Regions from separate parts of the Homo sapiens genome. Here all the other regions are linked to region 4. The links are contacts of gene promoters, found by promoter capture Hi-C in blood cells and fetal thymus (Javierre and others, 2016). All regions are on one chromosome and are shown on one strand. Each heading gives the region's core, a stretch centred on a gene start or on the middle of the fragment in contact. The rest is flanking DNA. Distances are from core to core; before and after follow the strand shown.

Evidence for each region. The method cuts DNA at HindIII sites, captures the fragments that hold promoters and counts their contacts. A CHiCAGO score of 5 or more calls a contact.
Region 1: a fragment that was not itself captured here is called in contact with the fragment with the promoter of FAM237A in region 4 in 2 of 17 cell types (naive CD8 T cells and fetal thymus); the score reaches 6.8 in naive CD8 T cells.
Region 2: a fragment that was not itself captured here is called in contact with the fragment with the promoter of FAM237A in region 4 in 1 of 17 cell types (fetal thymus); the score reaches 6.1 in fetal thymus.
Region 3: a fragment that was not itself captured here is called in contact with the fragment with the promoter of FAM237A in region 4 in 1 of 17 cell types (naive CD8 T cells); the score reaches 5.2 in naive CD8 T cells.

The regions. Positions count from the first base shown.
Region 1 is chr2:207,432,810-207,439,960 of GRCh38, reverse strand. No RefSeq gene overlaps it. Among named protein-coding and RNA genes, the nearest start is that of CREB1, 94 kb to the left of the region's middle. The HindIII fragment of the contact is 3,759 bases long and covers 2,487-6,245 here.
Region 2 is chr2:207,478,131-207,484,972 of GRCh38, reverse strand. No RefSeq gene overlaps it. Among named protein-coding and RNA genes, the nearest start is that of CREB1, 48 kb to the left of the region's middle. RefSeq lists an enhancer at 205-274. The HindIII fragment of the contact is 905 bases long and covers 3,002-3,906 here.
Region 3 is chr2:207,403,146-207,410,682 of GRCh38, reverse strand. No RefSeq gene overlaps it. Among named protein-coding and RNA genes, the nearest start is that of CREB1, 120 kb to the left of the region's middle. The HindIII fragment of the contact is 968 bases long and covers 3,034-4,001 here.
Region 4 is chr2:206,640,094-206,646,866 of GRCh38, reverse strand. It overlaps FAM237A (family with sequence similarity 237 member A), which reads right to left and starts at 4,380. Exons shown (of 3, transcript NM_001102659.3): 1 at 4,285-4,380; 2 at 2,219-2,640. The coding sequence starts at 2,630. RefSeq lists enhancers at 4,029-4,608, 4,609-5,190. The HindIII fragment of the contact is 6,542 bases long and covers 1,819-6,773 here.

The sequences.
Region 1 (7,151 bases), core at 3,117-5,616, 790 kb before region 4:
CAGGGAGGAAAACAGCATACACTGGGGCCTGTCAGGGGGTAAGGGGAGGGAGAGAATCAGGAAAATAGCTAATGCATTCTGGGCTTAATACTTAGGTGATGGGTTGATAAGTGCAGCAAACCACCATGGCACACATTTACCTATGCAACAAACCTGCACATCCTGCACATGTACTCTGAAACTTAAAATAAGACAAAAATAGAGTGAGAACATAGAATGATTTGCAAAGCAGTTTGAGTAAAAAATTCTAGAATTTTATTCATTTTGCCCCCAAATTTCACAGTTGTCCACATATAATTGACAGCATATCTCCCAATAACTCACCTCTATTGAGTCCAAGGATTCAAACAAGTTTTTATAAAAGCAACTCTCTTCACATTGACATTTCCTTTGTTTTCATAATTGATTAAATTATAACAAAAATGAATGGCGTTGACAGTTTTGGGAAAGTACCTGATTTTAGGTAAACTCAGAAGAGTTCAATTTATAGAAGTAGAATCACAGTCTCTTAGAGATGAGTTTCCTGACAAGTTAATTCATTCATCCATTATTTATGTATTTGCTGACTACTATATGCCAGGCACTGCTTTGGGACCCTGGTATACAGAAATGAACAGAAGTGGCAAAAACCATTGTGTCCTTGAGCTTCCGTTTGGCGCTAGCATGCACTATGCTGGAACATCAGCTGTACATATTACAGAGGGAATAATAGCATTAGTTAATGAAATGAGTTGGTCCGTTTAAAAGACCTTTTATTGTACTTCCCCGTTTTTTTAAACCTGCTAAACTTGAGATCATTTGAAACCCTCTTTCTCCTTTATGCCTTACGTCTTATCTATTGTCATCTTCTCCCAGATTCTTTTCTGCAATATCTCTTCTCAAATTACAGCAAGAGTTAACTTTGTGGATCTCTACCTCAACTATTAATATTTTCCTTTTCCAGTGCATCTCATGAGTAGATTCTAAAATCACAATCCTTGGAAAGCATTTTCACCATTACGCTCCCAAAGACAGGGCTGGTTTCATGGTCATGTGACCTGTGCATTGCCACAGGGCCCTGTGCTCGGAAAAGAACCATGCTTGGTTTAATACTTGTCCCTGTCTTGAAATTTTTAACAATTTTTGAACAAGGGCCTCCACATTTTTGTTTTGCTTTGGGTCCTACAAACTATGTAGCTGGCCTGTCAAAAGAACATACAGTAGATCCTTATTTTTTGACTCTATTGAATCTAAACTCCTCTGCCTAGCCTCAAAAGTGAATGTCCACCTTCCTAACTAGATAACCTTTTATTTTAACTTTTCCTTGATGGAGGAAAGCCTTGTTCAGGGCTAGCTAGATCTGCTGCCCTTGCATAAAATCGACCCACTTCTGTCACTGTGTTGTGGCTTGAACAGCTCTCTCTTATGGAAATGGATCCTGTCTTCTCTGCTCCAACCTAACTCTCTAAAACCCAGAACTCATTTCTTTCTAACCTGACTTTGTTTCCTGCCAGCATTTATGTAATTATGAATTTAAGTTTCTAATAAAATAATAATAGTTACTCCTCACTTTGTGTTTACTGTGGGAGACATCTCCTTGGCGTGGAACTAAATGCTTTGTATTCATTATCTCATACAGATATATAGTTTTAGAGGTGGGGCCTCATTCTGTTGTCCAGGCTGTAGTGCAGTGGCACAGTCATAGCTCTCTGCAGCCTGTAAGCCCCAGGTTCAAGCGATCCTCCCTCATCAGCCTCTTGAATATTTGAGACTACAGGTGCATGCCACCAATTCCAGCTAATATTTTAATTTTTTGTAGAGGCAGGGTCTCTTTATGTTGCCTAGGCTGGTCTCGAACACCTAGCTCAAGCGATTCTCCTGTCTTGGCCTCCCAAAGTGCTGGGATTACAGGCATGCGCCACTGTGACTGGCCCCTTATCTCATCTTTATACGGAGTTCTGTATTTTCTCTTCAGTTTTGGGCATGCTTATTCAGTACAGCGTGACTCTCCGTGTAGACGTCAGTGTTCTGAGCCTGAGGGTCATGTCTTCCTCATTCATTTGTGCTCTCTCGGCACTGTACACATGGTGTTTGGTGTAGTGCCAGGGCTCTGTGCCTGTTGCCAATTGACAGACAAAATGTTAATAAAGGCTGAAAGTATAAAGTATTGCACTTCTTTCATCTACTGATTTTTGCAGCTAGCAGCATCACAGGAAGACTTCGCAGGCCTGAGGACTTTGAACACTGCTCTGCACCATAACTTGAAGTAATTGTTCTTGTGATCGAAACTAACAACTATATAATGCCTGCTAGGCATAATGCCAGGACATGATTTGATTTCTGGTTAAATCTGCAGCTAAGTTGATTTTGCAAAATGTACCCACATGTGCTCAGGCAGTACGAATGCCCTCCCGCCCTCCGTTCACTCTCAAAAGTGCACTTGTCCAGAGAGTTGGATGTCCCTCACTTGTTGGAATATTTGACCCTGTGCATTTAAGTCTGAAGCTTCCAAGGCTAATTAGAAAAAATTGTTGTTGATGAGCTTCTGCCAAATGTAAAATGCCATGTTCAGATGCCTTTAGGACATCCATTAAAACAGCCAGAAATGGGGCCATGGTATTTATCAAGTCAAGGGAGACTCATGCTTAATAACAGTGACTTGTTTTATGCCATTAAGAAATAAGCAGACCTGTCAGGAGAATGTTCAACATAAGGTAATGTCAAACTTGCTGGAATAACTTACTCACTGCAGGGCTCCCATCTGTGAAGTCGCTGGGGAGGTGGCTGCTTCCATGTGATTCCTCAGATTTGTCAGTTAAATTAGATGCCCAAAGGCAAAACCAACTGACAGGGGCATTATGGGACACTCCTGGAGGATTCAGAATCCATAATCCCATGAGTAGGTCCCATTCACAATCTTGTTCATGCTGATACTAGGGGTCATGCCAGATTTCTAAGGAAGTAAATGATAAGAAAGAAAGCCAGCAGGCCAGCCCCCTCAAGGCTGTCAGTAGCAATATGGTTAATGTATAGTTTGTGGCGAGAAGGAAATGGCTTTATTTTTAAATTAAATTAAATTTTTTTAGTAGGAAAGTTTCAGAATATTGTCTTGAAAGAAAAATTCACAGGTTTTTTGAAATTGAATGTTTTGGCCTACACCAAGTCAGGCTACTGTCAGGGGAATTGTATTAATGGGATGCTGACCAAAATGTTTTTAGTGTTTCTCCGTGACATACCAACCTGAGGGTAAAAATAGGGTACAATAGCAAAAACACAGCAAGTCTCTGTTTTGACCTCCTTCAGCAACTGTAAGAAAGGCAACCATTTTATTGATTCTAGTTTATTTTACTCCCTCTTTTTCCTTGCCCTCCTTTCACTCGCCCCTACCATTCCCTACTAGAGGGCCTTCAGAAGACCATGGGTATGGGGTAAGGATATTTTGAGTAAGAGAATGTAAAAGGTACACAAAGGCACTACTCAAACCCACTTCCTCTCCTCCCAACAACACTGATCTAAAGTCCTTGGACCAAGTTTGTAGATCTCAATTTTTTCCTTCTCTTAGGGTAAGTTACTTTCCGGGAAGTTATTTGAACTTTAATGAAAACAGACTCCTGGCAAATCTACTCCCTTAGCCCCCAGATCTGGCTCATAGAGTGAACACAGAATTAACTGAGAAAGCTCAGCTCCCTTCATGTCAGGGTAACTGTTGTCACAGTGACCTCAAGAATTAAGTGTCAGGTGGTGAGAGCCAAAGACTAACTAGATCATGATGACTGTTTTGCTTTAGGTGCCTCAGAAGCAGACTCTGGTACAATGAATCAAATGGAAGTAGTATATTTGGGAGGTGACTCCAAGACACACTGATAGTGGAGTATGGAAATGAGACAGGGAACAAAAACAAGCCGCTGAAATTTGCATTGGCGCGCCAGTCATCTCTTTAGGCAACTTGAGCTTGTTCTGCCCAGGAACTCTGGGAAAGAGTGTAAAACATATCTCAGAGTTATTCCAACTGGGAGGTGAGAAATCTGGGGTATTTATCAACCAAATCCCATCTGTCATTGATGGAAGGTTGCTTGCAGGGTCATAGACACCCTAGCACTTCCAGCTTGCCCTGTAGGAGGGCTGACCTGTCTCTTGTAGCCAGAAAACATAAGCAGAGAATGGTAGGTATTCACAGTTAGCACTTTTTGATGTATATAGAGAAGGGATATGGACAGGGTGCTGACCAAGCCTGCTATAGCAAGAATGGGAGATGGAGTAATTAATGATCAAGTTCAGCAGAAAAGCCATCTTTTGGTGGTTTTCCTATCAGTGCATTAACAAAGTTCACCTCAGTCAAAGGAAAATAGAGAGACAGGCAAGTAAAAACTTTAGAATGCTTAGGCTATTTAATTTCTGCAAGGTAACTAATAGTCCACTTGCTATTGGGTAGATGTGCAAGAAGTGATAGCAAGAAAAGAAAAATTTGACCAACAGATAGGCTCAAAGAAATCTGATTGTACAATACACTTTGAAATTATTCATTGTGAACTTAATCTCTTTGTACAAGCCCAGTAGTCTTTTAGCTAATTCCTTTCCCAATGAAGGAGCCAATCAATGTTTTTCAGGGGAGAAAATTACTAGAGAGCCTAGTATGTGTTTTGATGCCCTAATGAGGCACTATGAATTACCCAACCCAAACCAATTAAGTCTCAGCCTGGATAGAGGGCTACTGAGGAGATGAGGACACAGCATGCATTTAGGGCAGAATTAACTGCTTCCATAGCCTGGAAATATGCTTGGGGAGAAGCCAAACCTTATAGGCACTCTGCTCTCCTTAAAGCTGGCAGCTGAAACGTGATCCAGCCCAACGTTAGCTTTTGACGCTTTTGCTTCTTTGGCTTTAAATTTAAAAAATGTCTATAAAACATAAAATATGTTTTGAACATTACATAAGGCTATTAAGAGGGGGTGAATCATGAAAACATGGTATGTCAGAGACAATAAAGTAAGTGAAATGAACTGCTGTTGACTAGCTGCTTGACCTTGGGCCAGTCGCTTAGTCCTTTCTTGTCAATCAAATAGAAAATTATAGCCCAGTAATGTGGTTTTGGATTGCACCTCAATAAGCAAGCTCTAATATCTTGGTTATGCCTTACTGTACCATGGGAAACCAAGCACTTATTTTCATTTTAATGTGATCTCTTTCAGTGGACTGTGACTTTCTTAAGCACCCAGCACAATGCCCCGCTTGCCTTAGAAACTCAGGAGCTATGTGTTGAATAAGTGTGGAATGAATAGTGGAGGAAGTTATTTAGAATATTATGGAGCACCTAGAAATATGCAAATAAATACATAATCAATGCAAATAACTTTTTCATCAGAGAAGAAAATGATGAATATTGAATTTTTACACTACCAGTGTACATTAGTGGGGTAGAGGAAATGTGGCAGGAGAATTGTCACTGGTGAGAAGGTGTGTAGGGTAGTGACTAATACATGGGCTTTGGAGTTAAGCTGCCCGGGGCTGGAATCTTGGCTCTGCTTCTTACTAGCTAAGTATTCTTGTGCAAATTACCTAACTTCTCTGGGCTTCAGTTTCTTCTTCTGGACCTTGTAGGTCCAGACAAGGATCTTATAGCCATGCAACATCTAGAAAGTCTTGAGAAACAGTCTATTGCTTAGAAGAGCTCAGTATAAGCTGATCATGGAAAAACACAAAGTCCAGAGTGAGGTATAAGACTTCTTCACTGGGTTGCCTTTCAGCCCTACTGTGTCAGCCTTTGATGGGTTTCCAAGCAGACTTTTTGTTTCCTGATTTCTTTTTTTTTCTGCCTCTATGATTTCCCTACCCTGTCCTAGCTCCATTTTCCTGGCACTAGACTTGGCCAAGGTTGAAACTCTTGTACCTTTCTCCATCTTTAGAGGGTGGTGATGGTGGATCATTGGAATAGATGGTGGGTCCTCAGGTCCTCCATGGTATAGGCATGGGTATTCCAGATTCTTCAGAGTAGAGCATCCATAGGACAAACTTATTGAGTTTCCTGTAACATCACCTTGAGCAACTAACTGAAGTCATCTGCTGGGTGAAGATGGAAAGGAACAAGGGGCATGGAGAGAACAACCCATTTTCTGCCATACTATAATAAGGCAGTATAGGTCGTATGTCTTTCTAGTATCTGCCACATAGTAGATGCTCTAGACATACTGGCTATGTCCAGTCTTCATGGTATTAGATAGTGATCAAGGGACTTTCCTTACCTCCACTTCCTTCACCTCTTTAAGCTTGTGCTTTGAACATTCACACCATCCAGAGTTGCGAGCAGGTCTCCAAATCTGGTTAGGACAGCAAGGAGGATGGATAAAAATTCCATCATTTGGGTCAGCACCAACCCTGGGTAAAGGTCCTTGATCCATGGATGGGATCCACATCCATCAGCCTCCAAGTGGAGTTTGAGATCTTGTCGGCCTTTTTGACATGGAGGTCTGTTACATGATCACTGGCTGTGAGCATCTTCCTCTGGAGGAAGTTCTTCCTTTTCCCCACCATGACCAAGGAAATAATCAATAACCCTTGTCCCAGAAATCCTGGGATCCTCTCTGCTCTCAGGTCACTTTGAAAAAAGGCTATCTATAGAAAGACTTTTGAAAAATATATATTTTATCTTCTATTATGAAATAATTAACTGTCCAGTGTACTCTTTGTTTGTGTATTTCAAAAATTTAAGCAGTATGAGCATCCTAAAGCAAATCTAGTCCAATTCCTCTTCACTTTAAAGAGGAGAGACTGTAAACTGGTTTGCTGCAAATTTTCCCTATCTTTTTTTTTCTCCTTCTAGTATTTCTAGTTGCCAAGAGTTTTGTTTATGTTTGTGGGGAAATCTAAAAATTATATGCCTGTAGACTATCTTATACAGACTGATGTTTAAAAAAATTCCTTAAGATAAAACAAATTTCACAGTAGAAGTTATTTAGCCGCTTGGTGAGGTGGTGACATGGCATAGTGCTTCATATTGCTTATTTTTATTTATTTTTTTTTACACCCATGTAATAGCTAGAAGACACAATGACACGCAGAGCCATAAAGCCAAACAACTCTCCCATTTCATTTTACAGCACAAGGCGGAGAAGGGCACAATTTGGTATCCTGACCATTTTTATAGGGGTTTGGAGACAGGTTAGACACATCTGAA
Region 2 (6,842 bases), core at 2,205-4,704, 840 kb before region 4:
TGCTTTGGAGTCATCCCTCACTGATTTTCTGCTAAGACTTCTTTTACTTCCTCATTTACTGCTACGTGGTTTCTAACCTGACTTACCTCTTCTGTTCCACTGTTGAAAAAGCCACTGTGCCACGGAGCCTCCTGGAGCCTGCCACACAGTAGACACTCAGTTACTGGTGACTCCGTAATTTCCTTCTAGGTGGGGCTGAGGGTTTGGTTGGAAAGAAAGATTTGAAGATGTGTTTATATACATTTTACACAAGATGGAAGCAACATTAGTTGTCCCTCCCTACCAATCTCAACAAGTGTTAGCTCTCCTCCCCCACTTCCATTCTTCTCAGCGTCTGAAGTGAGCACTCAGCTTGGGGATTTGGCAAAGAAGGCAAAGACTAAAAATAAAAAGCAAAAGGAGAGTTAAGAATTTCAAGCATTCTCTAAGAGCCTCCATTAACCGTTGGTTCTGATATTCATTGAAACATAGGTCCAGCTCATTAAAAGTACCTTTGAATTATATTATAAGTTTTTTTTAAAACAATAATAACATATTTAAAAAGACTGCTTATCATTGGGCATTCCTTTTCAGCTCTTGTTACAATGATATATTTCAATAGCTATAGATTATAGGCACATATGCTTTTTATCTTCTTATTCTCTATGCTCCTACCTAGTTGTCATGCTTGTTTTTTAATGCCTGGCTATATTCTGTCAGTGGCTATTAACGGAGTAGAGAACATATGTTCTGGAGTTCTAACTCAGGAAGAGCATCAAGACCTCAGAGGGTTGATTCAATAATTAAAGGTCACAATAGATGTAGCATATTTACAATAGTATGTAGACAGCATAAAGGCTGACTAAATGTTGGCTGTTATCTATAACCATATCAACTCAATTAACTTCATCTTTCTTCTTTACAATGTAAGAGTAACTTTTGGTGGGGAGCGTGCAGGGTGAGGGCAAGAGTAGGGTCTCTGGGATGAGGCACTTGGAGAGGTGCCAGGGTCATTTAGTAATGCTACAGCAGATATTTTTTAAGCACTGCGTGTTTTTTTTTTTTTTTTTTTTTTTTTTTTGCCAGTTTAGCACCAGACACTGAGCAAGCCTCCTGGTCCTTGAAGTTACAAAAAATGAATGACATTTTCTGATCTCAAGTTGCTCAGTGTGTAGTCAGGAAGATGTGAAATGAGGAAACCGCACGTGGGAAGAATGTTCATCCCAGGAGGTCAGGCAGGAGCTAGACCCACACTGGGCTGATGCCCACACTGAACTGAGTAGGGTTCCTCCTAGGAATTGGTCAACTTTTTAGGCAATGACACAAGAAAAAATGCCTAGAAGCCAGATCATGAAGCAGGTTGTATGAAGTCATAAGGAGGGCCCCTCCCCCTGCCCTCAATAGGTGATTCGAGAAGTTACAAAGCACAGAGGGACAGAAGAAATGAGCGATGAAGGTTGACTCTTTATTCTTCTCTCACATTTGTTTCCATCTCTACTACCCCTGCAGATTGGGGCCTCCATAGCACAAGGGTTATAGTTGGGGAAGAGGAGGAAAGAGGAGAGACAGGAGAAAGAAATTCTAGGTAGTGACAGTGGAGAGGAAAGGGGAGTTTTAGGAACCCACTGGCTGGTGCAGTCATTTGTATTTAAGAGATGTATGTAATTTAAGCTTCTAAAAGCCAGAGACTGCCCTAGAAAATAAATTTCCCATGCTATGCAGCAATTCATCAGTACCAAACTTCATCTCCTAGTTATTTATGAGTTTGCATAACTTGAGTAAGTGCCAGGCAAGTTTTTCTGAGTTTGATTCTTCATTTAGTATGTTTATTTTTGAATATTTTCTAAAGTAACTTTTAACCAAGTTAAAAGTTAGATCCTCACACTGAAAGGTGAAGAGTATTAATGTTTGGGAGTAAATAAAACAGTCATTCCAATAACTCCCAACTGAAACAAACTTTTCTCTCAATTATGAGGCAATTAAGCAAAGTGAGGTGGTGTTTTGACGTGAGATATATGAATAACTGAGACTGTAAAGCTAGCAGATGGCATATCAACATATCAAGTTTGTGAGGTAGTTCTGTGAAGTGAAAAAATATGTACAGTTCCAAAAAATATTGAGGTTGACCTAAATACGTTTGCTTATGCTATATGAGTACAAGGCTAACTATGCAACGTTGTTTAAGTGATGACTAGGATACTATTTAAACATCTGAGAGAACAAGTTGATTCCTTTAGCAATTTTTTTTTGAGCAGTCATTTCAATAAGTGCCTTAGAAGTTATATGAAGACTTGATTTCAACTCTAAGAATAAACTACATAATGTTTCAAATCTAATATTATCTAGAAGATCCCAGATGTCATGATACAGTTTAGTTTTGGAACAAGAAATAGTAATTAAAATCAACTAGAAAGTCTAGTGGGAGATCATTCAAAAACTTCATATGCGAGAAACTTTTAAGAGGCAAATAATATGAACAGTGATTTCATCAAAAAGGTGTAAAAAATAAACAGATGGGGACCTTGAAGAAAAAAATGTTATAAAATATCTACTGTTTTTCTTCCAAATAATTTCCAAAAATAATCAAACCTGTAAGAGTTATATAATGTGTAATTAGTAATTATTGTATCTCCTTGAGTTTCTTTCCCCTTTAAAAATATCTCTGCCTGTGGCTGTATATACAGAATTAGAAGAATTTTACTGGCTTCTCAAAACCAGTAAGGGGCGAGGGAGGACAGACCAGATAAGCAGTCATCAGCAATTGCGGTTAGGTTCAGCTGCATGGAAGAGAAACCTGGCTTCCTAGGCTTATACGAGGAAGGTGGATATTTTCCTCATGTGACATGAACCCAGAGCAGGGCAGTCCAGGGCAGGTGCTGGTATCTATGAAGGTCACTTAGGACCTGGGCTCCTTCCTGCTTCTCCACAGTCATCCTGGCTGGAAACTCAGCCATGTGTTTATGCCAGGCAAGAAGAAGTAGAGAGGCAGAGACCTGCAGAGCTGGTGCCTTTTTCAAAAGCTTTCCTGGCAGCTCCACCCTGTGATTTTTTGCTTACATTTAATCAGCCAGCACTAATTCCATGGCCTCCTCTAACCATCAGGGAATAATCCAGGTCAGGGCAGGGTTTTTAAACCGAGTACCTTGCCACCCCAAATGGATTTGAGTTCTCTTGATAAGAAAAAAAGGGAGAATACTTTTATTTTTGATTTTGAAGGTATTTATGTTATCCTGTTTGCCATCAAAAGGAAGTCAGAATTAATCTAGTTCTGTTACGATCTTTCATTTCCTGCTGTATATTATAGTACGTGGTAGACATTCAACAAATGTGGTTGATTGATGAATGGATTCATTTAACCAGTAATTATCAATCATACTACATGTCAGTGTTCTATGATATTTAAAAAGAAATATATATTCCTATCCTTGAGGGATTTATAGTTGCAATTTCAGACATTCATATATATGAAATGATTAGAGAACAATCCAACTGATAAAAAGAGCACAATTCTTCATCTGTGTTTTGCTTTCTATTGTTCGTGCTATTATTGTACTGCTACACTGGATTTGGTTCCAGGACTATTTTCATCAAATTATTTGGTTAAATATGCCCAGTGGTGCAGAAAAACAATGGAGGCATTAGATACTTGGGTTTTCATAGCATCAGGGTTGTGGATGGTCATACAGCTTTTGTGCTTCTCATTTTCTCTCTATAAAACATGCCATAGCAATGGCCATCCAGCATAGGCATTGGATAGACAAGGGGAGATGAAGACAATTAGGAGCATGCCTGGGCTCTGAAGTCAGGCTTCCTGGATTCCTCTTCCAGGTCTGCCATTTACTAGTGTAACCAAGGGTGTGTGTCCTACTTTCCCCATCCAACAAGTGGGGCAATAACTGTACAAACTACAGGGGCTGATGTGAAGCTTGTGCTAACATATGAAAAGTATTTAGAAAGAGCTTGGCATGTAGTAAACACTCAATAAAAGTTAGCTACTATTATGTAGTGTTTTCCAATGGTTTATTTAGAAGCAAAATAGTATCAGTCTAGAAGTCCAGGCTTGTTTTTCTCCCAAACATGTTTTCACAAGTGCTTCCATGGTCTCCTTCTCCTTTTCTTCTTCCTCTTCCTCTAAAAACATATTTTGCTGTGTCTGCTTGGTCATCTTTCACTGGGCCAGAGAAAGAATCCCTGAGGGTTGGACAAGGGGAGCAGCTGAGTTGGTGAGAAAAGGAGCCCAGCAGGTTGAATGCCTCGAACCACTGTGATGAGCTCTTGAGCTGGGTGCCAATCAAAGTGAAGCAGTGGGGCTTGCCAGGTGAGATGTTAATTTCAGCGGTCACACGTGTCCCTGTCTGGACTCTCCCTAGGACTCTTGACCCTACCCTGCAGTGGTTTGAAATGGATTTTATTAGGCTTTCATTACATTCTCATATCATTTTTTTCACTTGGTATCTAAGCTACACGAGAGCCAGTATAGTGCTTTGTCCTTGGCTAATACTCTACCCAGACCTCTCCTGAGTGTCCAGCTCTCTCTCTCTGCTGCACCAAATCTAGAGTGAGGTCAGGGGCTTAGAAACTCAACTCAACTTGTTAATCAATGAAGCGGTGAGGCTATTTTGTCCCTTTCTTAAACTTCTTTCTAAAGCAGAATTATAAATAGGATACTCTGTGACCTATGGGTCAAAAAGGGAACAATCGGGCAAATGATTTTTGATTGTAATATCTATTATGACCATAATATATTAATAATGAATGTCAAGGATTTGGCTCGAAGACAATAAAAGCAAAGGTGCCACATATGTGCTCTCTTTCTCCCTTTCTACAGTACTGATTTCATAACTTATCTTTAGGTAGAGTGGAAATTAGATTTTAAAAAGTGAGTAAAAGTTTTCACCCGAAAAAGTAATTTGTTAATTTTTATCTTGAATAACTCCTTGACTGATGAAACTCCATTTTGTCTTATACTGTTTGCAAACAAAAAAGAAACAATAATCCACACTAATAAGCACATCTGAGAATGCCTTTAAAACCCCTTTATTTGCCTAATTGGAGAAATTTTCTGGAATGATTGTCAATGGAAAACAGTTACAGCATTTGTGTCTAAATATATCTTCTTGCTTTTGTTCTACTTCCACCTGAGTGTTTTTAAAATTCTTATGTAGAGTTGATCTTCCTTTGTTAAGGATACTAGTTTTCAGAGTAAGGTTTTTTTTTTAAGAAAATCATTTAAAACATTTATACTACCCTAAGCTTCCACAGTTCTTGTTGAGAGTATTTTTCTCTTTGAATTTCAAGGGAGTGATGTCTTGTTGGCATGTTTGATGTTGTGGATGTGGGTTTCACTTTATTCGAGCAAAGCATTTAGAAAGCTCCAAGAATTTCTCTCATCTTCCTGGGTTGAGGGAAATGTAAACAGTGACAAACAGTTCTTCAAACTCTCCCTGATTTTTTTTCTTGTGGTGTTACTTTCCACAGAGTTCAAACACATGGGCTTTTAAGAAGAGATAATAATCTCATTTGACAGTAAGCAATAGTTATTATGACGCAGATTAGTCAGTATTTTGTGAAATATCAAATAATCAAGTAGTTTGGATCTGCTAGACCCCTCCCATTTCAATCATTATGCATGAAGTTGATGACCTTCATCCTTGTGACCCCACAAAGATCTTTATGACACTTATGTGTGAACTTAGAGCATTTTTCTACTCAACCGCAGCGCTGCTAACTCTGTTTGGGACGGAGGAGCTGCCTGTGCATTATAGGCTATTTAACAGCATCCATGGCCTCTCCCTATTAGATGCTAGTAGGACCCCTTCCTCTAGTGTGACAATAAACGGTGTATTCTGACATGGCCAAATGTCCCCGGGGAGCAATATTGCCTCCCATTGCCGTGGGGACCTCAGCCATCAACCTATGATGGGTAAAGGAAAAGATATTTTTCTTCTCCTACAGTTAAAAACATAAAAATTAGAAAATCCCCGGGAAATATTTTTATATCACCAGCAAATATCCTGACTAGTCAAAATGAGGCTTGCCATCAAAAGGAAGTCAGGATTCATCTATTTCTATTATGACCTTTCATTTCCTGCTGCATATTATAGTACATAGTAGACATTCAACAAATGCCTTTGCCTCCCATTGAGAACCACTGTCTTACAGCAATCTTCAGTCCAGGAGTATAGTGACAGTTTTTCACTACAATGAACAAAATTACTAGAGGATGTTAGGAGTTAGAAACCCCAGATTGCTGATGGGGCAACATAGGCACAGAAGTTTACACATGCCCAGTCTGTCGTAAGAGAGGGAGGCCGAGTCCCACTTCCCATAGTGCTTGGATCAGTCTGCCTGATAGTGCTTGCTTGATAATTACCGGTTAAATGAATCCATCCATCAGTCAACCACATTTGTTGAATGTCTACTATGTACTATAATATGCAGCAGGAAATGAAAGGTCATAATAGAAATAGATGAATCCTGACTTCCTTTTGATGGCAAGCCTCACTTTGACTAGTCAGGATATTTGCTGGTGATATAAAAATATTTCCCAGGGATTTTCTAATTTTTATGTTTTTAACTGTAGAAGAAAAATATCTTTTCCTTTACCCATCGTAGGTTGATGGCTGAGGTCCCCACAGCAAAAGACAGATTAACAAAAGGATACAAATGTGTTTAATATAAATTTTATGTGACATGAGGGCCCTCATAAAGAAATGAAGACCCCCAAGAAATGGGTAAATGTGAGTATTTTCATGCTAGGTTTGATGAACAGTGAAGAGTCATGGAGAAATACGATAGGGTGAAAAGGGTGTGATCTAATGGTAAGGCACTGGGGGAAATTTAGCAAGACCTGATTGTTCAGA
Region 3 (7,537 bases), core at 2,268-4,767, 760 kb before region 4:
TTTAAAATATCTGGCTTAGATCACTTGAAATTCTTAAATTATACTTTAGGCAGCTATTAGCATAATAATATTATCTATTAATAGCAAATTCTAGAGGAGTAAAGTTACCTGCAATTTACATGAATCAGAAAACTTGGTGTGATTAGTAGCATCACAACAAACCCAGCATGACTATTGTAATGACTATGCTTCCCGTCACTGTAATTATCTCCTAAAACTTTTATTGGGAACATTGATTACCATTTGCTTGTCATTCACTTTGAGAAAATGGAATGATGAACAAGTGCCAGGAGTGAAATGGTAGCTGTGCAGGGCCTGTGGAAAATACACGTGGGATGGTTTCAAAGCAAACCACTTGTATTGGCCAGGAGAACTGTGTGACCTTTCTGGGTTCAAAATAAATGATGGATTCCATATTTCTTTCAATTACCAAGAATTGCAGTGAAGATGAATGGGAGATGGTGATTTTCTAAGGGAAAATGTGGAATGATAATTTGTGTTTGAAGAATATTAGGCAAAAAATGAAATGTCTCACTCCTCCTCCCCCCAAGCTGTGCATCATTTCTATTCCCACGGTTGAAGGAAGGCAGGGATTCTGTTTCCTCATTATTGCTTGAATCTGTTCACTTCTCGCCATTGCCATGCCAAGTCTGTAAGCCAGGCCACCACCATCTCTCCCCTGGGCTACTTCAACTGCCTTAAAACTGGTCACTCCACCACTAACTGTACTTCTCCTAAATTCATTCTCTCTACTGCAGCCAAAGTGCTTTTTCTAAACAGCAGATCGGATCATGTCACGCCTCTGCTTAAAGGACTTCTCTGACTCCCCAAATCTTTATCATGGCTAAGTATGGGTCAGATAGCAAAAGGACTTGTAGGCCATGATCAGACTGTCCTGAAATTGCCTCTTGACTTGTCTATTTCTGCCACTGTTCTGTGAATTCGATGAGAGCATAGACTACATCTGTCCTGCTCATCTTGTATCCTTAGCACTTAACGTGGAGAGCTGACAGCCAGAGAGGCTGAGAGAGAGAGCCATTCTATTTTCCAATTCTGCTTTTTGCTGCCTTTAATTCAGGTCAAAGGCAAAAAGTGTTCATTTGGCCTCAGTATCTATTTCTAGCCATTGTTCTAAACTTTCCCTAGACAGGTATATTTTCTTTCTGGAAGATGTCTCAAAGAACAGAATTAAAAGTGAGATCTGGCTCTAATCAGGTTGTTCTGAGTACAGAAAATGTTAAGGGTGGGTTAAGATGTTTAGTCTGTTTCTCCCAGAGCCAAGTGGGAAGAACTAGAGGCTGATAGAGCAGAATTGCAGGGCACATGTGAGTGTGTGTGTGTGTGTGTGTGTGTGTGTGTGTGTGTGTGTGTGTGTCTGGGAGTACTGTGCTGCCAAACACTACATGGGTTAGCTTTGTTAGAAATTTAATGCCTGTGAGTTCTTCTGATAAAGCAGTTGCTGAGCTCTGCCTTTTCCTCTCTCTCTCTTTTTTTTTTTTGCCAGAGAATGACCTATGTATGTCAAAATGCTTTGCTTCAGAAAGGGAAAAGTAGCAAATCCTAGAAGGTTACTCTTAGATGTTTGATCACTACTGTAGCCCAGATTTTAGGACTAAAAAAGATTTTTTAGTCTTTTTGAATGTGGCTGTATGTGTGTGTGTATGTGATTGGCATTGGATCAAACCAATTTAGGAGAATGTAGCTTATATCAAATACATGAAATTATAGAGTATGACAAAGGTAACCCAGAATATGCAGTTACAGGTAGGGTGTAGACATCTTGAGTCTTTTTCCATTTATTAAAATAATTTTCTGTAATATATTCTTTTATTTTTTTCAGTGTCCCCACATCTCCCATTGAGACTTCTTGGAAAGGTCGGTAAACAAACTTTGCTGGCTCCTTTAGGTCTATCACAGACTGAAAGATAATTGTGGAAATGTTCTCCTGCCATTGCTTAACCCTGTATAATGCCACAGGCACCTGGCACAGCTTAGCTCCCTTTGTCTAACAAATGGGTAATATGTTTAAACAAGCCTGGTGGATTCCTGCCAGGATGCAGACAGACTAAGAAGCAAAATAAATCTAAAAGATGCCTCTTTCACTTCCTCCCTGCCCTTACCAATGCTGGGTCCATATAGTCAAATGCAGAGGGTTAGCAAACACCAAGCAAGTTGGCTTACTGATAAACCACAAAACAAACACGTATCATTTGCGTTTCTTCTTGAAAATAATCAGGTGTTGAGAGCCAGCTTTGAGTTGCCGGAAAGAGCTTCAGTGATTGTTTGTCACCCAAACAACTGCTTTCTTCTCCAGTTTTCCATTTTGGGCTTTCGGTTTTGTCTTGCTCCTTTAAGTAAAACAGCTGACTTGACTTGTCTGTGACTTCTGGGAATAATTTAATTCTTACACAGGGGCTAAGTAACTGGAGAGCAGCATGGGAGAATCCGCTCTGATGCACCCCGCACTCACTCACACACAGACAGACATTCAGGCTCATCTTCCCTGCTTTCTGTGGCTTGGAGAGAGAGATTTGGGGAATCTGTGTGCGTTATTTGCCTTTTTAATATTCCGACCTATCTTAGAGGTCACAGTTACAAATCTCAACAAAGGGTGTGGAAAAGTAAAGTTTTGTATGATCAAGAGCCATGTGGATTTTTAAAGTTGAGAAACAGTGTGTTAGAGAGAAGTGGGGTCTTTCAGTGTTCTAGCGAGCCTGTGCTTGGTTGAGGAGGAAAAACTGTCTTGGTTGAGGAGGAAAAACTGTGTCTTGGTTGAGGAGGAAGTCAGAAGGGGAAAGAAACTAACATTAATCGAACACTCAGTTAATGTCAGTACACGTTAAGTGAATTAGCATATTTAATTCTCACAATAAAGCTGCTATCTCTTTTACAGATGAGGAAGAGGAACATTAGAGACAATTAATAATTTGCTCAAGTTCACCTACATGATAAGAGACAGGACTTCAACCTAGATTTCTCTGATGTCTAATAACACTCCAGTTACATCATTTTAAATAATTGGGGAAAAAAGCTTAGCATCCTATACTTTTGCTGTGAATCGTGGAGTTGCTCCTCCAAACCTTATCACAGCAGTGTCTTTTTCTCTTGCTGTCTGGCCTGCTTTCAAAAGCCTCATCCCTGCTTGGTAGCTTCCGGGAATGTTCTTTGCATACTGCAGGTCTTGCTTCCTTTTGGAGAGGTGTGTGTGGCACCACCACCCGTGCCTTTATACAGAATTAGGAAGGAGCTCTGTATTTGTTTTCGTTTTTTTTTTTTTTTTTTTTTTTAATTACAATTGAAAGGGTAAGGATGTGGGATGATTTTTCAAGCTCACCATACTTTTCCATCCATTCAGAATTAGCTTGTATATTTATTTACATCAAGTCATTAACCAACATGCGTTTATGGAGGCCTCTTCATGGGCAAACCATAAATACTTGGGAGATACAGTCTTATGAGCTGATTTGTGTCGCCTGCAACTATATATGTTGAAGTCCTAACCCCTGTACCTCAGAATGTGACTGTACTGGAGTTAGGGCCTTTAAAGAAGTAATTAAGGTAAAATGAAGTCATATGAGTGGACCCTAATCCAGCGTGACTGGGGTCCTTATTAAAAGAGAATATCAGGATACAGATAGTTGTGCACAGAGAGAGGAAAGATCATGTGAGGACACAGAGAGAAGGTGGTCATCTACAAGGCAAGGAGAGAGGCCCCAGAAGAAACCAAACATGCTGACACTTCAGTCTTGGCCTTCTAGCCTCTAAAACTGTGAGAAAATAAATTCCTATTGTTTAAGCCACTCAGTCTGTGGTGTTCTATAATGGCAGCCTGAGCACATGAATACATTGATGAAGACTCTAGCTATAGTTAGGATTCATGAGTTTAACAATCTAGTTGGGGAGATAGATGAGATATATGTCTATCTCTATATCTCTTTACATATCTATACCTATATCTGCATATATGTCATTGACTATAAAATTAAGGCAGTAAGAAAGCTTTTCAGGATTTCAAACCCTTGCTAATTGAGAAAGTGGGTAAATACAACCAGAAGGTTTTTTTAGAAGCCTTGAAATTGAACACGTTCTTTTTAGACCTGATAAGACTAGCTTTTTAGCTTTCATGAGGACAGATAAGAGTTATTCTTTTAAAAACTCCTCTAGTGTACACCAGTAGGCTGAACAGGAAGGAGTTGGCGAGGCTTTTTCTGATGTTTATTGGAGCAGCTGTAGAAATAATTTTGTACCTTGGATTCTGTGATTTCTTTCCATTATGAATAAATTTGGAATTTATTTTAAGGCTTTCAAAACTGGGAGTGCTGTGGTCTCAGGACTATTTTTTTATTAAAACATTGTCTTCTTCACTGTTGGCTGCATTTCAGGTGCTGGCTGAATCCTGCACAGTGGGCAGGATTCACATTCAGCTTCAGAAATGCCGTTGAATGATAATAATTACAATAATTATATATACACACACACACACACACACACACACACACACACACACGATGGAATTGGGTTCCAATTCTATTTGGCTGAACTTGATACTTGACTTTACTGACTCAATTTTGGCATCTTTAAAATGAAGAAGGTTGATAAGTACCCTGTTATCTCTGAAGACTGGGCACAATCATGCTGGAAAAGGAATTTGAACCCTTGAATAAAGATGTGTTGAACACAAGTTGTTGTTTATTTATATCAATGTATTTTATAGGTTGACACTGTGGACCGGACGAAAATCTTCCATATACTTTTGGCTCAAGACTGACTTCCAAAGAACCAAATAAACATGGTAGACAAGAAGGCCAGTAAGATCTAGTGCTTCAGAAGTGGCATGAACACCTTGCTATCTCCATGAACTAGAATTGCCACCTTTTTCTCACAGAATCTTATTCATGAAAGACAAATTGCATTTTTTGCTCCTATTCCATAGCCAAATATCCTCTTTCCTGCTCCCTTCCCGCTCTCTTCTTCCCGCAAGCTTGTTAATTCTCCATTTCAATGGGAGCTTCCAAGAGAAATGGAAGGAATCATTCAGCAAGGAGAAAACATTGACCATCTAGAGTCTTCGATATTGATTTAGAATCCACTTTAATATGGTCTAAATTATGGCTAAACAATAAACAAGGAAAAGATGGTGGAGAGAACAAGAAGAGTGGCTAATCAAGTAAAGCCCATGGAAACAAACCAGAACCTAAGTGCACGCTGAGCTCAGGGCCTGAGGGACAGATAAAACACTTCAAACTAGTTTTTGGCCTCCAGGAGTTTAGAGTCTGTTGGGGAGAAAAGGCATGCTAACAGTTTATGAGACTCAATGAGATGATTTATGGCTGTCACCAGAGCATCACTTCCCTTTCATCTCCAGAATATGGAGCACTTTTTTTTTCTGATTCCCAAGGGGACCTGGAAACTCATATGTAGTCTCTCTTCATGTCTAGGAAAGCATGCTGGTAACAGAGAGACACCTCGTCTGGGTGAAGGGAACCACAGTTGTGCTCATCTCCTGTGGATGCTACCTCTAACAGCATGACCTATTGCAGTGGACTCTTCTCCTGTTCAATTCACAGCCATCTCCAGCACCAGAAATGAGTCCTCCAGTGCTTGGCCATGATGGGTTCAGATTCTTGATCTGAGTCCTGACCTCTTTTCTGTCCCTGCTCCTCCAAAAGGAAATCTCATAGATCTTTAGAGCACACAATTTATTACATCCCTGTTCCCAGAAAGGGATGATGATGATTACTATTTTGAGAACTATTTTAAGGTGACTTTCTCTCACATCTTTTGTTAAAAGGGGAAGAAAAAACAACTAAAGAAAGCAAACTAAAACACAGGGATGTCAATTATCAAGTAAGCAAAGAAATATGTGCTGAGCAGCAACAAAATGATAAACATTTTCATAATCCTGATTTTATTTAATTTCCACAATAAAGCCTACAAAGTAGCTATTCTTCTTCTCGTTTTATTGAACAGAAAGCTGAGGCTCACAGGAGTTAAATATCTTGCTCAAAGTTACACATTTAATACAGCCAATATTGCATCTATTTTCTGTTTCAGGACAGTGCTCCTTCTAACGCACCACAGCTGCTCCTGAATCAAAAGAGGACGCACTTCCATTGGGTTGGAATGTTCCGCATGCAGGTGTATGAGGAAGAGTTATTTGAACTGGTTCTTGACTGAATTATAGGGTTTGGCTAGGTGGTGGAAGAAGACAAGTTTATACCTGGACTGGAGGGATTAGCATGACTGAAGCCACAGGTTGGAAAATGCAAGGTGTATTTGGACGACTGTGTGTAGACTGTTTTGGCTGGAGAAGAGGGCTCATTCCTGTTACAAAATGGCACCCAGCCAAAGAGAGGAGAACAATGAAGATTGCTTCTGCCATTGTTGCGATTTGGGATTTTCAGGCACCTCTGTTAAATGAGGACAAACAGTGCTGACCTTCTCTTGCAGGCAGGCTGGGATTCTGAATCATCAGTGACTGGGAAGTGGTGTGCTCCATTATCTGAGGCATGATATTATATCCACCAGCTATTTCGTTCATGCAGTTGGATTTCTGCTCCATTGAAATGATTCTCTCAGTGTGAGCTCAATAACAAGGGGCATGATGGTAGTTTTTCTGTGTTGCCAGAAACTAGGTCTGAATTTCTTCCAGCGCCTCCTGCTCTAAAGCACCTCTTATGATTAATTAACCTTTTGTGGAGTAACTAGGACATCTGTGTGGGATGAGATGTACTTTGGTCAGACTTCAGTTTTTAGTTGTTCAGCAAGAGGATAATTAATTATAAGAGCTGAATCTGAACAGAAGATTGTTGGAGGAAGTCCAAATGAAGCAAAACATCTAATTATCAATGAACAGGAAGTTTTTTTTTAGTTGTCGTTATTGTGGGAGTGAATAAAATACTTAATGCAATATAAATAAGAGGTAGTAACAACTTAAGATGCCTGCTTTGAGTGTACACTTCATGTAAAAAATTTGGGATATTTGTTTTTTGGAGACAAAGTACAATGAACTAACCATAACTAGAAAAATTGGCAACAGAGGCCAAGTTAGTGTCTAAAATAAATATTGCCCTTTGAGATAATTGTGTTGCCTTTAACAAAGGTATATCTAGAACATCTGGCTATTGCCACTGACAAATAACAATAAACATCTCTTGTCTAGAAAAGAATGTTAGATTAAGATGGAAAGAAATAAAATACAGGAGGCTAAAAACAGTGCAAAATCAGTTTCTTTAACATAAATGGTTACTGTGATAGAGATGGTTTCCCAATGCTTAGCTTTCTGAAGTGAATCACCTCCAGTATTTAGCCCACATCTCCATAATACAAATTTTCTACAAAACCCCGGAGGCTGACACAGTCAGAGATTCTAGCTTGACTTGCTTGACTATGGTGACAGGGTAGGTTAGTGGATAGTGTGAGAAATTTCCACTGTCAAACAAAATGATCCCACATTCACTGATAACTTCTTCAGAAGTACTGCACTATCTATTTAATGAGAGAATATGATTGCAGCTCATGTTTATAGATATCAACA
Region 4 (6,773 bases), core at 3,131-5,630:
AACATATTATCCCCGAGGGACAAAAGAAAAAAAATATTGGAGGATCCATGCAGGTACATTCAGAGCCCAGTTGAACCTCTAGAGATTTAATCAAGCCTCTTGAGATGAAATCTCAATGTTCCTGTAACTATTTAACTGTTGGACATGGTATTTCCTTGACCCAAGACCCTCTTTGACTGTGGTTATACAAACCAAATGGAAAGTCTTGTTTCTTGGTCTGCAAACAATTTTTTGTGTCAAACATTAAAATAATCTCAATAAAGTGAAACACTCACTCCTGCTATTTGGCTACTTGCATACCAACTCCCTAAAGTTTGCAGACCAGCTGAATCACCAACAACTCCGTAGCAAGACGAAGGAAGTGACTTCCAAAGCTGAAGCTGTCTCGGAGAAAAGCTTTATAAAATAAGTATATATATAACTTTTTGTGTTCAGCTGAATAGAAATAATATTTTCATTTATTTAGTAGACATTTCTTTGAGTTATTCAAAGTAAGTGCAAGATAGAAAAAGATATTGCTGGTGATTTGAGTAAGACAGCTAAATATGATTTTTTTTTTTTTTTAAGATAGAGTCTTGCTCTGTCACCCAGTCTGGAGTGCAGTGGTGCGATCTCGGCTCACTGCAAGCTCCGCCTCCCGGGTTCACGCCATTCTCCTGCCTCAGCCTCCCGAGTAGCTGGGACTACAGGTGCCCGCCACCACATCCGGCTAATTTTTTTGTATTTTTAGTAGAGACGGGGTTTCACCGTGTTAGCCAGGATGGTCTCGATCTCCTCACCTCGTGTTCCGCCTGCCTTGGCCTCCCAAAGTGCTGGGATTACAGGCGTGAGCCACCATGCCTGGCCAATATGATTTTTAAAGTATGGAAGAAAAGGCCCTACAGACCATCCTCAGCAGTATAGAATAAAAAAAAAAACCATGGTCTGTACTGGTGCTGATGCCTGGGCAGCCTCTGTTCAAAATATTTTAAAAATATGGGTAACCAACATTTAAAAATATTCATTTGGTATTTCTACTTTAGTAGCAAGGCTGCTGAAAGAATATTTCCTCTAAAAATGAAATTGGTTTGAGTTACAATAACACTTACCAAAATAATAAACTTATCTGTAAATAATAGCCATGAATTATCTGGGTTTTTTGGATTAGCAAATCATGAGGATTTTTAATTACTAAGGTTAAAACAAACTAGATATATAAAAGCTCTAAAATATCTTGGGAAAGGGTAGCACTAGAACTACCACTGTTAATTGCTATTTTAATATGGAGGTTACAGGAATATGTAACAATTCTAACACTAAAATGTACAAATGTAAAAATTAGTTATGCCCCTGTTTTCTACTGTTGTATATATAATTCTAAAGAGTTACTGGCACTCAAACAGCCCTTGATAAAAGGTTTCAATGCTCATTGGTTGAAATGACATCAAAAAAAGATAACAATAATATGTATAGGGTTCAGGCATCTCTCTGCTTACTCACAGAGGCTTACTCAACCTCATTCTAATTCTATAAGGGACTTTTTTTCTGTACCCTCAGACGAGACTATTTGAATATAGTATTTACTTCAATGAAAAACTCTAAATTTGTAGCAAGTTCCAACTTACTAAAAATTAATTACTCAGATTGCTGCAAGTTAATTACTTACTTGAGATTCATTCAAAAAGCAACATGAAGTGAATCTACATGCCAGCTGACTTTTTTACTCTTTATTTCTTCAACTGAATACCTCTCAAAGAGCCTCTCTATTTACATGAAAGCAATATTTATTTTCAGTTTAACAAGGGCAAGAATTTGTGTGCTGCAAATGTTTCCTAAGCTTATATTCAAGTCTTCTCAATTCCACGGCAAGTAAACATCAGGTTATGACTGCCAGTGTTCAGGCTAATAGTAAAAAATAATGTTGATCTTGGGGGATCTGTTTATACTTTTATGCTGTATTTTGGGAATCATGCTTTTTGTCTTTTCTTTCTGACTCTTCCTTGCTGCTGTTCACAGGAAGTATGAGGATGAGGACAATATGTTGATATAAACAGCTACTATGCAATGCAAAAAGAAGTACTATCTATCTTCCTATCAGTTATGTGCTCTTGGGGTTCACCTCTTGAGAGGAATATATATGACACTGGATTCCCCTAATGCCATTTCCCTCTTCCTCACAATTCAGCACATTCATACTTGATTGACCCTTTCAAAAGACATGGGAGCTGGGGTTGACCACCTTGTTTACTCCTTGTGTGCTGTGGCTGCGCTGCTGAGATTTTCTCTTCCTCTCCAACCAATTGCCTCCTTCCTAAGCCATGGTTCCTAGAGAGCACACAGTCCACATAGATGTCCCAGAAGAGTTGGGCCAGATCCCAAAACAGTGCTCCATGCTTCAAGTTCTCAGATGACTTCAGGTAGATCATAAAATCCCAGAAGCCTGAAACAGTGTTGGAAACGCGAGGTTTCCACATTTCCAGGAGAAGCACTGAGGAGGATTCCCAGCACTGAGGATCAGCTTGGCTAAGAGCCAGCAAGTCTGTCTGGCTATGGCAGAAGAAAGGAGATACACAGCACATTCCCACAATGAGCAGGGAGCAGGTGAAGCTCAAGGGGCGGTGGATCCCTCCTCTGTTCCCAGGATCAGCCATGGCCCTAAAACTGCACAGGATGGAAATATTTCTTATCAGTCCCCGCTTGTGCTCTGCTCAGTAAAGAAAATAAGTATGCCCTTAATAACCTTACTTCCAGCAAAGGAAACACATCATTGTCACAAAGTAGGGAAATCTTAGCCAAGCTCCCATATCACAAGCTCCGTTCTATCTAAAATGACTCATTGCCAGGCCAGGGAGTGAACATAAATCCAAGACGGTCAGGCCAAGACATATTCCCTCCTAAGATGTGTTCCTTTACAAGATGAATAAATTAATCTGCTAATCTGTTTTTCTCTGGTACAGAAGAATGTAGCCTAACAGCATACTAAGTGAACATTTAAAATTTTGCTGCATGGCTTTAACTATTCCATAATATCTTAGCGAAACCTGGCTCTCCTAATCTAGGACTTATATATAATTAAGAATTTAAATATATTTAACCTTTAGATCCATTCCTGTTCACTGTGACTTTTAATTTTTTTAAAAAATACATCAGAATTGTCAAATGTTATAGTAAAATTAACAAAAGACAATGTGCTAAAAGTATGGATGAATATATGTGGAAACAAAGAGACATATATTCAACCAATTAGAGTAGAATCAATAAGCATTTTACAAATACCAATAATGTTCTGCAATTCTGATATAACTTTCATAAAGATAATGTTTTATAATCTCTCTGTTCTTGCTATGAATCTCAAGGATTTTTTTTTTAAAAAACGTGACTCTCATTCAACTTTTCTGGCTTTCAATGTCTGTTGCCATAAAATTGAGTCATCTACATACCACTTTGAAATTGTTCTTTTGTTACCACTTCGGACAGGTGCAATGATAAACGATGCTCTTGAAATAATAATAACCCAAATGTTCACTTTTTTTGCCAGAAAAAGTGTATATATTCCTTCACAGACTATACAAAATGTGTATCACATTTAAACAGCTCTAACATAAAGAAAAAATAGGAAGGGCACATACAGCTCACTTTCAGGTTTGTATTATATTTCCAAACCTTTTAGATGTTAGTATCATGAAAGCAAGCAAAATACAGCTTGTGGGAATACTCTTATATTGGAATATTTAATGATAACACCATAAGTTGGATAATCTGTCTCTTCTGAACAGCAGTAGGACATGTTTAGGTACTGTTAAATAAATATTTCAGAAAGTGTCTTTGAACATGCATGTTCCTATATTGAAGAAGCATGTTAGAGATACAAGATTATTCAAAAACTATTTCCTCTATCTTTCATATCATGTATGCATTATCTCTACTTGAAATCATATTTGTTGTGTCCCTTTCCGAACTAAAATATCGAGGTACCTCAAAGGGTGGTTTTCCTAAAGGACAAGTCTAAGCTAAGTTTTCAGAGGGCAGGACTCTGTCCAAGGTACTGAAGTTGGCGTTATCCGGGACTCCCTGTCTGCTGGCGCCACGGCGCTCAAATTGGCTCCTTTAGGTCCCCTTCTAAATTTTAGGAGAGGCTTCCCAGACCCTGGAAAGGTGTTTCTCTGAGTTCCTTGAACCTAGAGTCCTCCGTGCACCCCGCTACGAGCCCCGCGCTGAGTCTCGGCCCCGCACTTGATTGCGCAGCCTCACCCTCCGCAGGGCGGAGCTGCCAGGGACCCACTCTGTCCTTTGGGCCCCACTCACCTCCTGACTCGGCGGCTCTACTCCCAGATGGCACAAGGGCTTCCCTCCGCACTCACCCGCCTGGCCCCTTCCGGGTTCCCTCGAACGCGTGGAGAGAGTTCCCTCGAGTACGCGGAGAGGAAACGCTCAGGCTGCTCCCGAGCGAGTGGCTGTCCCCAGCTTCCGCGTCCTGGAGGCTACCGTGCCTCTACTTAAGCAGTGGGAGTGCTCGGCGCCTCTCCAAGTCTACGTCAAAGCTCCTGGAAACTGCCGCCACCTCTCGCCTCCAAGTCCGTCTCCCGCACCCTCCTCTTCTCTCCCTCCCCGGAGAATTTCGGTTCAGGAAACCAGCGGGCTTGGCCACACACACTCTCATTGGCCTTGACCCGCACCCACTCTGCACCTGCCGGAATTGAGCCTCTAATGCGGCTGGGCTTCCCGCTCCCACCTCGCGGGTGCGTGCCGATGCGGCGGGAACTGCAAAGTTAGGGCCCAGCTCCGCGCTGGTCCAGGGGACAGCAGGGGTTCCCGCTCACCACACGGGCCTCGTCCGAGAATAAAGGGGTGTGAGGGAAGACTGTGGACTCTTGGGGTCGGAGGAGGGACATGAGCTGCCTCTCGACACTCAGCAAGGGCTCAGAGGAAATAAGGCGCCTCCTCGAGATATTCCAGGTGTGAATTTCTCCTGCCTGTAGCCCTGGGCCGAAAGGAGAAAAACACCCCCGAGGGCAGAGATGAGGATAGGGACTTCGCCCTGCTGGAAGCTCCCCCTGACTGTTGCCAGGACACCCCGTTGTTTCCAGACCCTGGCCTGGGTCACTCAGGAGACTGGGTTGCTGCTGGCATCGCTTTGGTCAGCACCTCAACCCCCCAACAACCCCGCTCCAGATTTCACAGCAGGGTCCCAGCTTTCCAAGAAAAAAAAAGCGCCTGGGATTCCCTTTGATTCTCACCTCACAGCTACTTACTATCCCAGTCCCAGATTAGAGCCCTGTCACTGCTCCAGTGCTCCTCTGAGCATAAGTGCCCATCTTAACTGAAACACACCCAGCCAAGGGGCCTGAGGCAAAGGTCTTCCCTCTGCAAGTGTTTCCACGTTTTGCCCCTTTCCTGAAAATTCCTTCAGCCCCTGAAAACCACTTGTAGTCTCCACTAACTGAAGGCTTTTGTGCCAGCTCAATAGTATCCATGGTTACCTTCCGAGGGGCACAAGGCTTTGTAGTAAGATTTGCCGAAGCCACAGAGAACCAGCCCCTTCCCCAAGGTACCATTAAATAGGAGGTCTGAAGAGGAGTTCTGGGGGGCTCTGAGCTATTCCTCCTGCTCAGAAATGATGGAGTGTACTTCAGTTTCTCCATGTGTGAGCTGTATCTAATGTCTGCTTCTATTCACCCCATAGGGCTGTGGAAAAAGATCAAGGGTGAAGTCTTGGACTTGCTTCCTGAACTTTGAGGAGCTCATGCCTTTGGAGAAAACATACTTCAGGACATCATCCAGGAGAAGTTCCCCAACCTAACAAGATAGGGCAACATTTAAATTCAGGAAATCCAGACAACTCCAGTAAGATACTCCATGACAAGATCAACCCCAAGACACATAATCGTCAGATCGAGAAAGCATTTGGAGGTGACTCGTGAATGTCTGGAAAAACGAGTTGTACAGGTATCCTAAAGCCAAAGGGTCAGGAGTGCAGTTTCAGGGGTAGAAGACAGTACAAGCAAAGGCAGGAAGGGAGTGCTCATCGCAGTTCATGCTTCTAGGGAGCGAAGTCAAAGAAAGGACTGTAGAGAGGGAAGGCCGAACAGAACAGAGGTAAAGATGTGTCCCCTGGTTTGGGACGTGTCAATAGTTACATTACTGTTGAAAACATTCATATATAAACATGCAGTGCTTACTTTATTTTCAAGTGCCTATGTGTTAGGCACTATTTTACATGCTGTGTATACAGAAGGAACAAAACAAAGTCCTTGTACGCATGTAGCTTACATGCTAGTTGAGTCTGGAGTGATGGAAAAAAATTATTTATATTTTAATTTTAAAATTATATCTATACACATATATAGTGTATATGTATACGTGTGCACACACATAATATATGATTTATGCTTCTAGTTTCTATGTTGAATGGTGAGTTTACAGCTATCTATCAAAAACAAACACACAACTAGCTAATTAAATACACAAGTAGTGCCATGCATGAGTCAATAAAGTTTATCCGTCATTCTGAAGCCCAAGAAAAAATATATGAGTAAAGTGTCAGATGTGATAAGAAAAACAAAGGGTCAGCCAGGTGCAGTGGTTCATGCCTGTAATCCCAGCAGTTTGGGAGGCCGAGACAGGTGGATCACCTGAGGTTGGGAGTTCAAGACCAGCCTGGCCAACATGGTAAAACCCCATCTGTACTAAAAAAAATACAAATACATACACAGAATTAGCTTGGTGTGGTGGCACGCATTTGTACTCCCAGAAACTCAGGAAGCTAAGGCACGAGAATCGCTTGAATCCAGCAG